Regions from separate parts of the Homo sapiens genome. Here region 2 is linked to region 1. Evidence: promoter capture Hi-C in 16 types of primary human blood cells and fetal thymus (Javierre and others, 2016). All regions are on one chromosome and are shown on one strand. Each heading gives the region's core, a stretch centred on a gene start or on the middle of the fragment in contact. The rest is flanking DNA. Distances are from core to core; before and after follow the strand shown. Region 1 holds the start of RAI14 (retinoic acid induced 14). Region 2 overlaps RAI14 (retinoic acid induced 14).

The links. Contacts are between HindIII fragments. The CHiCAGO score rates a contact against its expected background, and 5 or more counts as called.
Region 2: a fragment that was not itself captured here is called in contact with the fragment with the promoter of RAI14 in region 1 in 1 of 17 cell types (endothelial precursors); the score reaches 5.2 in endothelial precursors.

Annotation. Positions count from the first base shown.
Region 1 is chr5:34,655,019-34,661,152 of GRCh38, reverse strand. It overlaps RAI14 (retinoic acid induced 14), which reads right to left and starts at 4,825. Exons shown (of 18, transcript NM_015577.3): 1 at 4,678-4,825. RAI14-DT (RAI14 divergent transcript) reads left to right here and starts at 4,980. Exons shown (of 3, transcript NR_183264.1): 1 at 4,980-5,160. RefSeq lists a silencer at 4,818-4,867. The HindIII fragment of the contact is 8,769 bases long and covers 1-5,799 here.
Region 2 is chr5:34,705,737-34,712,059 of GRCh38, reverse strand. All of the region lies in intron 2 of RAI14 (retinoic acid induced 14), which reads right to left. LOC124900960 (a long non-coding RNA gene) reads right to left here and starts at 2,658. Exons shown (of 3, transcript XR_007058730.1): 1 at 1,834-2,658; 2 at 1-548. The HindIII fragment of the contact is 423 bases long and covers 4,143-4,565 here.

The sequences.
Region 1 (6,134 bases), core at 3,576-6,075:
ATGTTCAACCATGTAATACAAATACTCCAAAAATTTTAAAAATATCCAAAATCTGAAACACTTCTGGTCCCAAGCATTCTGGAATAAAGAATACTCAACCTATACACGGCAAGCTAGAAGGTGGTAAGTGCCTTGGAGGTAAATAAAGCAGGGATGAGGTTGCAGGCTGGACTGGAAGGAGGTGTCTCAACATAACACCTGAAGGGATGACACAGCCATGTAGACGTCTAAGAGAAGTGCTTTCCAGGTAGTGGGAAGAGCACATGCAAAGGCTCTGAGGCAAGACGCCTGGTGATCCTTTTGCAGAATTCACGAGCATGATGATTGCATGTGTAACATGTGTCTGACATGAACTTAGGGAAAAAAAAAAAAAAGAATGTGCCCAGCAATTTGAAGGAATGAGGACGCCAATGTGTTTAAATGCCTTAAACTCCTTTCAGCCTGAGTGGTTACCATTAGGGTAAAAATGCGTCACTAACACAGCAACATTTTCACAGACTCTTAGAACAGGAATGTGCCTTTGTAAATGCTTACTCCTACCCCTTAATCTTACCAAAGAAATGAGGAAGAGGAGGTTGGGTGAGTAATCCAAGGTCACACGGCCAGTGAGTAGCTGAGAAAAGGTTTCTGCACAAGAATCCCAAACAGCACCATGGATTTGTCTCATGCTTCAATTTTACAATGAAGAGCCACTTTTTCTTTTTCTTTCTCTCTTTGAGTTGGAGTTTCACTCTTGTTGCCCAGGCTGGAGTACAATGGCCGGTGGGATCTCGGCTCACTGCAACCTCCACCTCCCAGGTTCAAGCGATTCATCTGCCTTAGCCTCCCGAGTAGCTGGGATTACAGGCATGCGCCACCACGCCTGGGTAATTTTGTATTTTTAGTAGAGACGGGGTTTCTCCATGTTGGTCAGGCTGGTCTCGAACTCCTGACCTCAGGTGATCCACCTGCCTCGGCCTCCCAAAGTGCTGGGAGCTGAGACAGGGTCTCACTCTGTCGCCCAGGCTGCAATGCAGTGGTGTAATCTAGGCTCACTGCAGCCTTGACATCCAGGACTCAAGCAATCCTCCCACCTCAGCCTCCTGAGTAGCTAGGACCACAGGCACACCACCACACCCAGCTAATTTTTGTATTTTTTGTAGAGATGAGGTTTTACCATGTTTCCCAGGCTAGTTTTGAACTCCTGAGTTCAAGCAATCCTCCTGCCTTGGCCTCCCAAAGTGCTGGGATTACAGGCATGCAACACTACACCAGTCCCACTTTTCTTAATTAAAACAAAGAAAGAAAAAAGAAAAAAATAATCCAGCCAACTATGTAATCTTCTTAGAATTTAATCAGTTTCACTTTTTTAGTCAACAGATAGCCAAGACCATACAAGCACCCTAAATATTTGTTGAAGAATGAATAATAAATGCAATATTACCTAAACTTCATTACCCAGCAACTAACTAAATAAGTGTGTAACAGAAAAATGTGTGCACAAGAAAACATCTCAGGATGTTTATTGTACAAACTGTTATAGTAAAAAGAAATAAAAATAAAAATGAAAATGGAAATAGAGTGTCACTCAGCAGAAAAAGTGTAACAGTGAAAAACTAGGCCAGGCACAGTGGCTCATGCACTGTGGAAGGCTGAGGTAGAAGGCTCACTTGAGGCTGAGAGTTCAAGGCCAGCCTGAGCAACATAGTAAGACCCTGTCTCTACAAAAATGAAAAAAATTAGCCAGGCATGGTGGCATGTGCCTGTGGTCCCAGCCACTTTGGAGGATGAGGCAGGAGGACTGCTTGAGCCCAGGAGATTGAGGCTGTAGTGAGCAGTGATCACGATACTGCACTCCAGCCTGGGTGACAGAGCGAGACCGCAGCTCAAACAAAAAACAGTGAAAAACCAGAAACCCTAACTTACTCTTGGCAAGGGAGTAAATATACTATACTTTTTTCATACACTGGGATTCTCTGTAACAGCTAAAGTGAATAAAGATCTATTAACACATGTATCTCAAAAACATAGTAAGTTAAAAATGCAAGCTATACATAGGTAGAATTATGCCATTTATGTAAAATGTTAAACACAAACTCACATGTATTTTTTTGTGGATACAGTGTAGTTCCAAACATGCTTGAGAACTGTGTGCGCTAACTTCACATTAGAGGTTACCTGAGGATGGAGGCAAAGGAGTAGGAATAGATCAAATATTTAAGTTATAGTTTATTTTTCCGGGGGGGGAGAGGTATGGATCAAATATGAAAATATTAGCAACTATTAAACCTAGGAAGTAGAAGACAAAATGGCTTACTATACTCTGTTTTTATGTATGTTAGAAATATTTCATACTTATTTATTTATTTATTTATTTGAGACAGAGTCTTGCTCTGTCGCCAGGTTGGAGTGCAGTGGCGCAATCCCAGCTCACTGCAACCTCCACCTCCCGGGTTCAAGCGATTCTCCTGCCTCAGCCTCTCAAGTAGCTGGGATTACAAGTGCGTGCCACCACGCCCAGCTAATTTTTATTTTTTGTATTTTTAGTAGAGACGGGGTTTCACTGTGTTGGCCAGGATGGTCTCGATCTCCTGACCTCATGATCCGCCTGCCTCGGCCTCCCAAAGTGCTGGGATTACAGGCATAAGCACCATGCCTGGCCCTTATTTTTATTTTTAAAGGATGAAAAAAAAGGAAAGAAGGAAGGGAGGGAGGGGGTGGAGGAAGGAGAGGCAAAAGTTGTCCACTGCATTCTATTAATTCCAAGGCCCAGTTGTTCTTAACCTCCAAATCTGCTTCTTCACTTTTAAAGCCTAGGTGATAGTACGTGTACCTGCCTAGAACATGCTTTGAAAACTAGCAGACTGGAGAGAGAATTTCACTGTCAGGTTCACTACTGGTGGGCGGGACACTACATCATTCCCCTACGGAATCCCTAGGGGGCTCAGCATCCTTTCTGTCTCTTCAATTCAGATAACAGTAATAAGATTTTCCAGCAGGGTTATAATCACACCACCACCACCACCATCTCCAAAAAGCCATAAAACAATAAATTCATTACTGAAGCATCTCAGTGAATGGAGATGAAAACTGTGCAACAGCCCAGCACGGGATAGCTCTCCCAATCTCTGTTAGACAAGCACTGGCTAAAATATAAGAACTGGATCAATCTCCTCACATAAAATCAACTGTCTTACAAACCCAAGGGGGAAAAAAATCACACTTGTTAGGCATCATTAAGAAAAGATTATCAGATTATATACATCAGTAATAAAATTCCGAGCCACAGGGCGAACAGGGACCTGCAGGCTGGGGACAGAGCAGCCAAAATCCAGCCTCCCTGTGATTCCCGACCTCTTCTCCAACTCTGTGCAAAGCCCGAGGAGGTGAGACTCTCTTCGCTAAGGCGAGCTTCGGCTATGTCCTAGTGATGGACAGTTCCTCTCTGCCAGGCCCCTGCAGCCTTGAGACCACATTCCCCAGAGATCCGGCAACGTTTCCCCATCCCAGGCAGCTGGGCATTCTCCTCTCCCGGAAGGAAGACGGAATCCCACCCCGATCATGCGTGAGCTGCGGCGAAGAGAAGCCGCTGGTCCCGAGGCGAGGGGCCTCGAGTCCGCAGATTCCCCTCAACATTTCTGGGAGTAAAGTTGGGCTTAGCTGGGCTCCTGGCAAATAAAGAGGAGCCTGGAAAGACAGCCATGCTCAGGCCCCCGTGAGGCCACTTCGGACCCCTCCACGCTGTGCTGGGCTGCATCTGCCTTAATTCCCCGTCTGTTGCTTCTCCAGGCTCTGAGCCCCCTCCACAAAAGGGGGATGCGAAACTCAAAGGAGTTAGGATGTCAACCCTGCAAACCGCAGAAACTAAACCGACACCAACCTGCCCAAGAAGGCAGCGAAGGTGGTTGAGGACGACACCCCACCCCCCACCCCCCACCAGGCAGGGGTCGCGGGAGATGGCGGGCGCCTTTCTGGTGGCTCCACGTCCTCCTTACTCCCGAAGTCCCGGCGGCCCCGAGTCTGCCCCAACTCCAGCATCCGTTCTCCCCGAGCTGCGGCGGGGAAAACAAGGTAGGGGGCAGGGGCAGGCCCAGAGGGGTCTCGCCCCCGCCCTTGGGCCGGCCGAGGGGCTCCCTGGAGTCAGAGGAGGAACAATAGCGGACCCCGCGTCCTGGGAGCCACCCGGAGTCTCCCGCTCGCACCTCCCTCCCCACCTCCTCCAAGTTCAGCCGGGAGGCGGATTGGGCTCAGCAGCACCGACGCGGGGGCAGCGAGGCGCCGCGCGGGGCGAAACAGGTGGGACCCGGCGCAGACTCCAGGGTGCATCTCCGGGTCTGCTCATTCATTCCCACCCGCGCTCCCTCCGCCGCGGCCCCTGCCCCGCGCCCCGCCCCAGCCGGCCTGCGAGTCGCGGAGGACCCGGGAAGAACCCTTCTCCTAACTTGGCCGGGTCTTCCCGCTCTACCCTCATCTCCACCTTCCTCTCCTTCCTCTTGTCCCCAGATCTGCTCTCCGCAGACAGTGGGCTGCCGGCGGTGGACCAGGGAGAGGTGGCGGGACCCCGGCTGCAGCCCGCTCAGCCGCTCCGCCCGGGCGCCGTCCCCAGCGCCTCCCGCGCCCGAGCTCCAGACACAAAGGCGGGGACACGAGCCCGGGACCCCGCGCCGGGAGCCTCCCAACTCCGTGCCGCGCACTCACCCCATCGAGGCGGCGGCGGCGCTCCCCGGACCCAGCTGGCTGCTCCACCCCGCCCGCCGCTTCCCCAGGAAAACGCGGCCGCCGGGCTCGCTTCCTGCTCGGCTTCCTGCGCCGCAGTCCCTCCTCCTCCCCCGCTGCGGGGGTCAGTGGGCGCCGAGCTCCCGGGCTAGGCCGGCGGGGCGGGGGCAGCGGCAGCACCACCACGTGGCCGCCGGGCGCCGGCCCCCGCCGACCTGGATCCAGTGGGAGCGGGAAGGGAGGCGCTAACCATTCCCCTCCCATTCCACCCCTCGCGGCCCCAAATTCCGCGAGTCAGGTGACCCGGCCCCGGGCTCTGGCCGGGACCTGCGGGGGGTGCTCTCCGCCCTCCAGCCCCCGGCGCATCTCCCCGGCCCGCGCGTCCCGGCTGTTCGTGGCTTGCTTTTAGTCTCCAGGGATCGTGGGACCCTTCTCCGCGGATCTGTTTCATCCTCTTAACCTGAAGTTAGTGGAAGCCCCCCACGCTCTGACCCCTGGGTTTAGGACGGATGAGATCCCAGATACTGTTTATTTCTGATTAACTTCCAAAGTCGTTTGTGGTAGTGGCGAGTGTTTCAAAGTCACGGATCCAAGCCCCTTCTGACCAGAATCTAAAAGGTTGTTTTCCAAAATCATTGAACAGAAAGTAAAGTAGAATGTGCTCACGTTCTCCGGACTGAACCAATTGGTTGAAGTGACTGTTTTCTAGCACTCATTGGGTGGCAAGGCAAGACTACCACCGTTCAGTGTTGTTCTGCTCAGGAGTTAGAAAGGAGAAACCTACAGCCTGAACTGACAGGCGAGATTGCGCATGGGAACGCCTTCAAAATAGTGTGTGAGAAGCCACGGGGTACAGGCTCACTGCCCCAGGTCCCCGACAGCTTCTCTCCCTATCCCAGCCCACTAAGGCCCGACCTTTCAATTACGATGGACTCCACCATTAATTCCAAGGATTTCAAAGCTCTCTATCTACCCACTCATCTAATTTGGGCTGGCTTTTCCATGCATTCTAGTCATGCTAACCAGCTGTGACTTCAGTTCTGTTCACCTAAGCTCCTCCCTTCTCCTCGTTAGCTCTGCCTCCTTTGCTCAGGGAAGAAAGCTTTCTAGAATAAATAACGTATTGAGTTCTTTCTGGGATCTACTGTAAGTCAATTGAACTTAAGAGGGAAAAAAGGTCGATTCCAACAAAATTGAAATTCACCCTAACAGCTCAGTTTATAACGTGTCAGCTACATACTAATATTTATATGGCAGATATTACCTGTTCCCTCCCCCCGCCCCATCCCCCTTTCCTTCCTCCCTCTCCCTACTAGGGAAGAGCCTATCTCCCCTTTAACAGTTGAACTTGACAAACAAGCATCAAAAGCCTTGTAACTAGGTGCAGGGTCTTCACTTCCTACAGCAAAAGTTCCTTAGCCAAGTGAGGAACAGCTAAA
Region 2 (6,323 bases), core at 3,105-5,604, 51 kb before region 1:
AAGGAAATTTGAAATTGGGGCTCCCTCAATCTATAGGTTCCACTGACTTAACAAGATCACCCCAAGGTTCAAGACGGCAGCAAGCATGCTAACCATCAATTCCTCATCTCAGATAGAATAAAAAAAATAGAATAAAAGGAAAAAAAATAGAATAAGGAAAAGAGGCGGTGTAACTTTCAGCAGCATACAAGGATGCTTTGACAGGGCCTTCCACCTGTTTTACCTCAGTTCAGGCTGCTGTAACAGAATACTGCAGACTGGGTGGCTTAAACAATAGACATTTATTTCTGACACTTCTGGAGGCTGGGAAGTCCAAGATCACGTCAGAGTCGGTGTCTGGTGAAAGCCTGATTCCTGGTTCATAGACAGCTGTCTTCTTGCTGTGTCCTCATATGGCAGAAGGGATGAAGTAGCTCTCTGGGGCCTTTTTAATAAGGGCAATAATCTCATTCATGAGGGTTCCATCCCTGTTGTCAGGCCTCTGAGCCCAGGCCAAGCCATCGCATCCCCTGTGACTTGCACATATACATCCAGATGGCCTGAAGTAACTGAAGATCCACAAAAGAAGTAAAAATAACCTTAACTGATGACATTCCACCATTGTGATTTGTTTCTGCCCCACCCTCACTGATCAATGTACTTTGTAATCTCTGCCACCCTTAAGAATGTTCTTTATAATTTCCCCCACCCTTAAGAAGGTTCTCTGTAATTCTCCCCACCCTTGAGAATGTACTTTGTGAGATCCACCCCCTGCCGGCAAAACATTGCTCTTAACTTCACTGCCTATCCCAAAACCTATAAGAACTAATGAAAATCCACCACCCTTTGCTGAGTCTCTTTTCGGACTCAACCCGCCTGCACCCAGGTGAAATAAATAGCCATGTTGCTCACATAAAGCCTGTTTGGTTGTCTCTTCACACGGACGCGCATGAAACCTATGACCTAATCACTTCCCAAAGGCCTCATCTCTAAATACCAGTCACCTTGGGCATTAGGATTTCAACAGAGTAATTTTGAGGGGACACAAACATTCAGTCCATAGCACCCCCCATCACTTCTCTTTGACCAGGTCAAACCTAGTCAGTCAAACGTAGTTCAAAGAAGGCTAGGAAACTCTTTTAACTGAATTCACTGCATCCCAAATAAAAGATAAGGTTCTTTTACTAAGAAAGGAGAGGAAAGATATTGAATAGTCTACTAGAAATCTCTTCTGCTGGAAGAACACATGTCAGAAACTTTACAGTCTTGGCATGCTGAGCAGAAGTCACTTAGTCCAATGTTTCTGAAGCTCACTCATTGATAAGAATCACCTGCAAGAGCTGGGTGGTGGAGGGATGGTGCAGGGAGATCCTCACTGAAATGCAGCTCCCTGGTTCTACCCAGACCTACTGAACCAGAATCTTCAAGGAGAGGACCTGGGAATCCCTGTTCTTAACAAGCAACTTATGTGATTCTCATCATCAACAAAGTTTGGAAACACTAAAATCTAATCTTCCACCCACTTAGTGGCCCCTCAGCAAATGCCTGAGGCTAAGGGCCCTAGAGTCAGTCCAATCCAGCCTTGAGAAGCAAGAGGCATGCAAGTTCTTTCACATACTGAGGTAATATCTGACAGAGAGCCTATGCCATGGGAAGGGAACAAGCCAGTCTCACTACAAGAAATTACTGTTCTTATAAAGGGGAACATTTAGACACCAAGACGGATACATACAGAGGGAGAAGATGACCATGTAAGGACAGAGGACTAGAATAATGCACCTACAAGCCAAGGAATTCCAACAACTGCCAGCAAAACCAGAAGCTAGGAATAAGCAAGGAAGGACTCTTCCTTACAGAGACTTCAGAGGCAGGATGGCCCTGCTACACAGACTTCTCGCCTCCAGACCCAAGAAGGTATACTTCAGTTGTTCTAAGCCGCCCATCTGTGGCACTTTATTCCAGCAGCCCTAACAAATGAATACAATTGGTTAGTGAGGAAAGCGGAGGATGTATTTCCTTACCAAGGTCAAATTCCATGTTCATGGACTAATACCTAAACTATTTCCACGCACAACTCAGTCTGAATGCAGAACAAAGGAACTGCAAAAGGCCACTTGGAAACAATCTGGCCTTAAATCACATTTGCTTTTCTTCGGGATGGTTTGAAAACAAGTTTTTCCACACATTATCTCTGGGGGAATGAGGAGTGGTTAATTCATTCTTATGCCTCTGAGATCAAAACAAAATATCTACACGGCTTCCCTCCTAGATGATTGCTTATTATCCTAGATCAGTGCTTCTAAACATTTTCTGCTCAGGAAAATCTTCCAAAGAGCCTAAGTAATACCCAACCCAGCTCCTCTCCAGAAAATTGTATTCAGTTGTATGGGAGTTGGGTGAAGAACAGGAATAACTTTTGTTTTTAAGCTCCCCAGGTAATGTTAATGTGCAGTGGGGTTAAGAACTGTCTGAGATTATATGAATGAAGATTTGTTTTTTTCCAAATGTCAACAGAGAGGGGCAGACCCTCCAAAATTCCAATACTAGGAAAACCCATCTTGTGCAGAATTGACACAAAGTAGCTACAGACTTTTGAAAGTTTACTTTAAAAACTGATTTTCTTTTTTTTAATTGGAGACCAGTCTTGCTCTGTGGCCCAGGCTGGAGTGCAGTGGCATGATCTCAGCTCACTGCAACCTCCGTCGTCCAGGTTCAAGCGATTCTCCTGCCTCAGCCTCCCAAGTAGCTGGGACTATAGGCACATGCCACCATGCCCAGCTAATTTTTTTATTTTTAGTAGAGACGGGGTTTCGCCAAGTTGGCCAGACTGGTCTCAAACTCCTGGCCTCAGGTGATCTGCCCACCTTGGCCTCCCAAATTGCTGGGATTACAGGCAAGCCTGGCATTAGAAACTGAATTTCTGAATGAATTTTTTTTTTTTTTTTTTTTTTGAGATAGGGTCTCACTTTGTTGCCTAGGCTGGAGAGCAGAAGCATGATCATAGCTTACTGTAACCTCAAATTCCTGGGCTCAAGCATTCCTCCCGCCTAGCTAGCACAATAGGCATGTACCACCATGCCCAGTTATCTTCTAAAGTTTTTATAGAGATAGGGTCTTGCTATGTTGCCCAGACTGGTTTCAAACTCCTGGCCTCAAACGATCCTCCCACTTTAGCCTCCCAAAGATATGGGATTACAGGCATCAGCCACCATGGCTGCCCAGTTCTATCATTATTAGATTGGCAATGTTTTAACTAATGGCTCCAGGCAGGCTCTCAGGCAACTTATTTTATCTGTGGCATAATGGTCTTTTATAATCAATTACCCCCATGGTTTTAAATTTTATCACGGTTTTTTAACTACTGACATTTTATTTTCACTGTTATAACTTGGCAAAACATCCAAATATATAAATGCAAAGATACCCACAACCTATGGAATATGTTTTAAATAAATTTAAGCTAAAAATTTTTTTTTGTTGTTTTCACAAAAGACGCAGGCTAATTAGTTGACAATTTTTTAACTGCTGACATGATTATACTGTCAGAACTCTGCAGACTTCTTAAAAATATGTTCCTTTGGCCAGGTGCGGTGGCTCACGCCTGTAATCCCAGCACTTTGGGAGGCTGGGGCGGGCGGATCACCTGAGATCGGGAGTTTGAGACCAGCCTGACCAACGTGGAGAAACCCTGTCTCTACTAAAAATAGAAAATTAGCCGGGCGAGGTGGCGCATGCCTGTAATCCCAGCTACTCGGGAGGCTACGGCAGGAGAATCGCTTGAACGCGGGAGGCAGAGGTTGCAGTGAGCCGAGATCGCGCCATTGCACCCCAGCCTGGGCAACAAGAGTGAAACTCGGTCTCAAAAAAAAAAAACAAAAACCCAAAGTTCCCTTATACTTAGGTTTTATTATTTCAAATGTGGTTCTAAAGAGTATATTAAATTATATCTTTATATTTAGATAACACTCAGGAGCAGCTTAGCTTTCATACGATCTAGTTTCTTGACATGATAACCTTTCCTTACTCCACTTTAGAAACAAAGCAAACTCATAAATACAGTAGACACATAAAGACATAGACTTTCACTTCCTTCCTTTCTTTCTCTTTTCCCGCCCCTGTATCAACATTCCCTCTCTTTCTTCTTCTGCCATTTTTTCAAAGCTTTGATTTTCCCCTTGGAGAGAGGGTCAGAGGCTTGAGGATTTCCTGTCTACAGCTCTGCCATGTGCTTAAGGAAATGTGAAAAAATAACTGTCTATTTCAAGGAAAGGTTATTATAATCATAACTTACAGTAGGACCAGATTCCCTGTTGTTTGTTCTCAATTAGTAGAGATTACAAGAAATGTCATAGAAGAGTAGAAGATGATAAATTTTGACGAGGTACTGGGGAGACTTGAATACACTTCAATTAAGATGTGTGGTTTTTTTCCCCCAGATGCCTGGGGGACTTTGCACAACTCCAGTAAAAATAAATGAACTGCTTTTGTACTCTCTTACAGAAGCAATTATCAGTGGACACAAAGATGGATGAGGAGCAGAGGGACTTGGAAAGAGACCTGAACAGGAAATACAGAATTTTAAAGCTTAATGAGACTTTTGAGAGCATTTTTTTTGAGACGGAGTCTCGCTCTGTCGCCAGGCTGGAGTGCAGTAGCGTGATCTTGGCTCACTGCAACCTCCCGCCTCCCAGGTTCAAGAGATTCTCCTGCCTCAGCCTCCCAAATAGCTGGGACTACAGGCACCTGACACCACGTCGGGCTAATTTCTGTATTTTTAGTAGAGATGTGGTTTTACCATGTTGGCCAGGCTAGTCTCGAACTCCTGACCTCAGGTGATCTGCCTGCCTTGGTATCCCAAAGTGCTGGGATTACAGGCGTGAGCCACCGTGCCCAGCCAAGAGCATCTTATTTCACCCATGTGGAAACCCAGGGAGGCTAACTGACTTGCAGGAGTCACACACAAGTAATTGGCAGAACCAAGATCAGTAAATATAGCCTGCGGTTCTGTCCACAACATCATGTGCCAAGTTTTGATGCTATCTGAAAGTAACAGTAAAATGTTGAGCTGACGTCTTTGCCTCTCTGGCTTCATGTTTTACATATTTATCATCTCTCAATATGCTGCAATTTGATGCGGGGTAGGGCAAGAGCTGCAAGTTTTGATGGTCTTGACTCAGTTATTGCCTCTTGTTAAGGAAGATGAAAAACTTTTCTGGGGTAGAAAAGGGCTATTTTTCATGAAATGCCATCCATCATACAAAGTTCAAGGTCAAGGAGTCACATGAGGCATATACAAAAAGGGCACAAGTATTATTTCTGTGCCCTTAAAATGGTCCAGATAACTTGGTGTTTCAAGCAGAGAAAACCCCTCCTGCAGTAATAGGAGGCAGCAACAAAGAATAAACTATACAGATCAGGAATAAAAAGCCTGCAATCTCCTGTGATACAGTATAATCACACAATAGGCCCAACATCAATGTAATAAAGTTCCGAAATAAAACATTTCTTCCATTAAGTCCCAAACTCCGGGTTCGAGTATCATTTTCAAATGTTAACATGAATGTCTAAGTATCAGCCTAAAATTCATTAGTCAGCCTGAGATATTTTGAGCAAGAACCCTCAAAATATGGGAAAAACCATATAAAAGCAGAAAATAATCCTTAAGTGACATTCTATTTATATTTACCTTTTAAGAAATCTTCATTGTCCTCAGTTTAATGAGTAAGTTTTAAAAATAAAATGATACACATATTCCATGAGTCACACAAAGCCAAGGCTGCTAAAGTGGGTGATTAAACATTTTAAGGAAAACTGAATTATATGAAGGTTAAGTCCCTTTTAAAAAGTATATTAGGAGGCATTACGAAAATAAGAAAGTGGTTATAAATCTGAGTTCCAAGAATGGTAACTCCCTTCTATGGACAGAGAATAACACTAGGGCAGAACAATTACATTCCTATGCCAGGAAAACCTTCACAGAAAAAAAACACAGAAAGTCCAAAATCACAGCATTTAAAAATGCATTTCATTGAGATGCTCCATACGGAAAATCAGTGATGTTAAATCAGCAGCTTCAGAGGACAGAGAGCAAATACAGGGGATGTTTGCATAAACCTAAAGAAAAACAGAAAGTGGGCTGGGCGTGGTGGCGCATGCCTGTAATCCCAGCACTTTGGGAGGCCAAGGTGGGCAGATCATCTGAGGTCAGGAGTTCGAGACCAGCCTGACCAACATGGAGAAACCCCATCTCTACTAAAAATACAAAATTAGTCGGATGTGGTGGTGCATGTCTGTAATCCCAGCTACTCAGGAGGCTGAGGCAGGAGAATCATTTGAACCCAGGA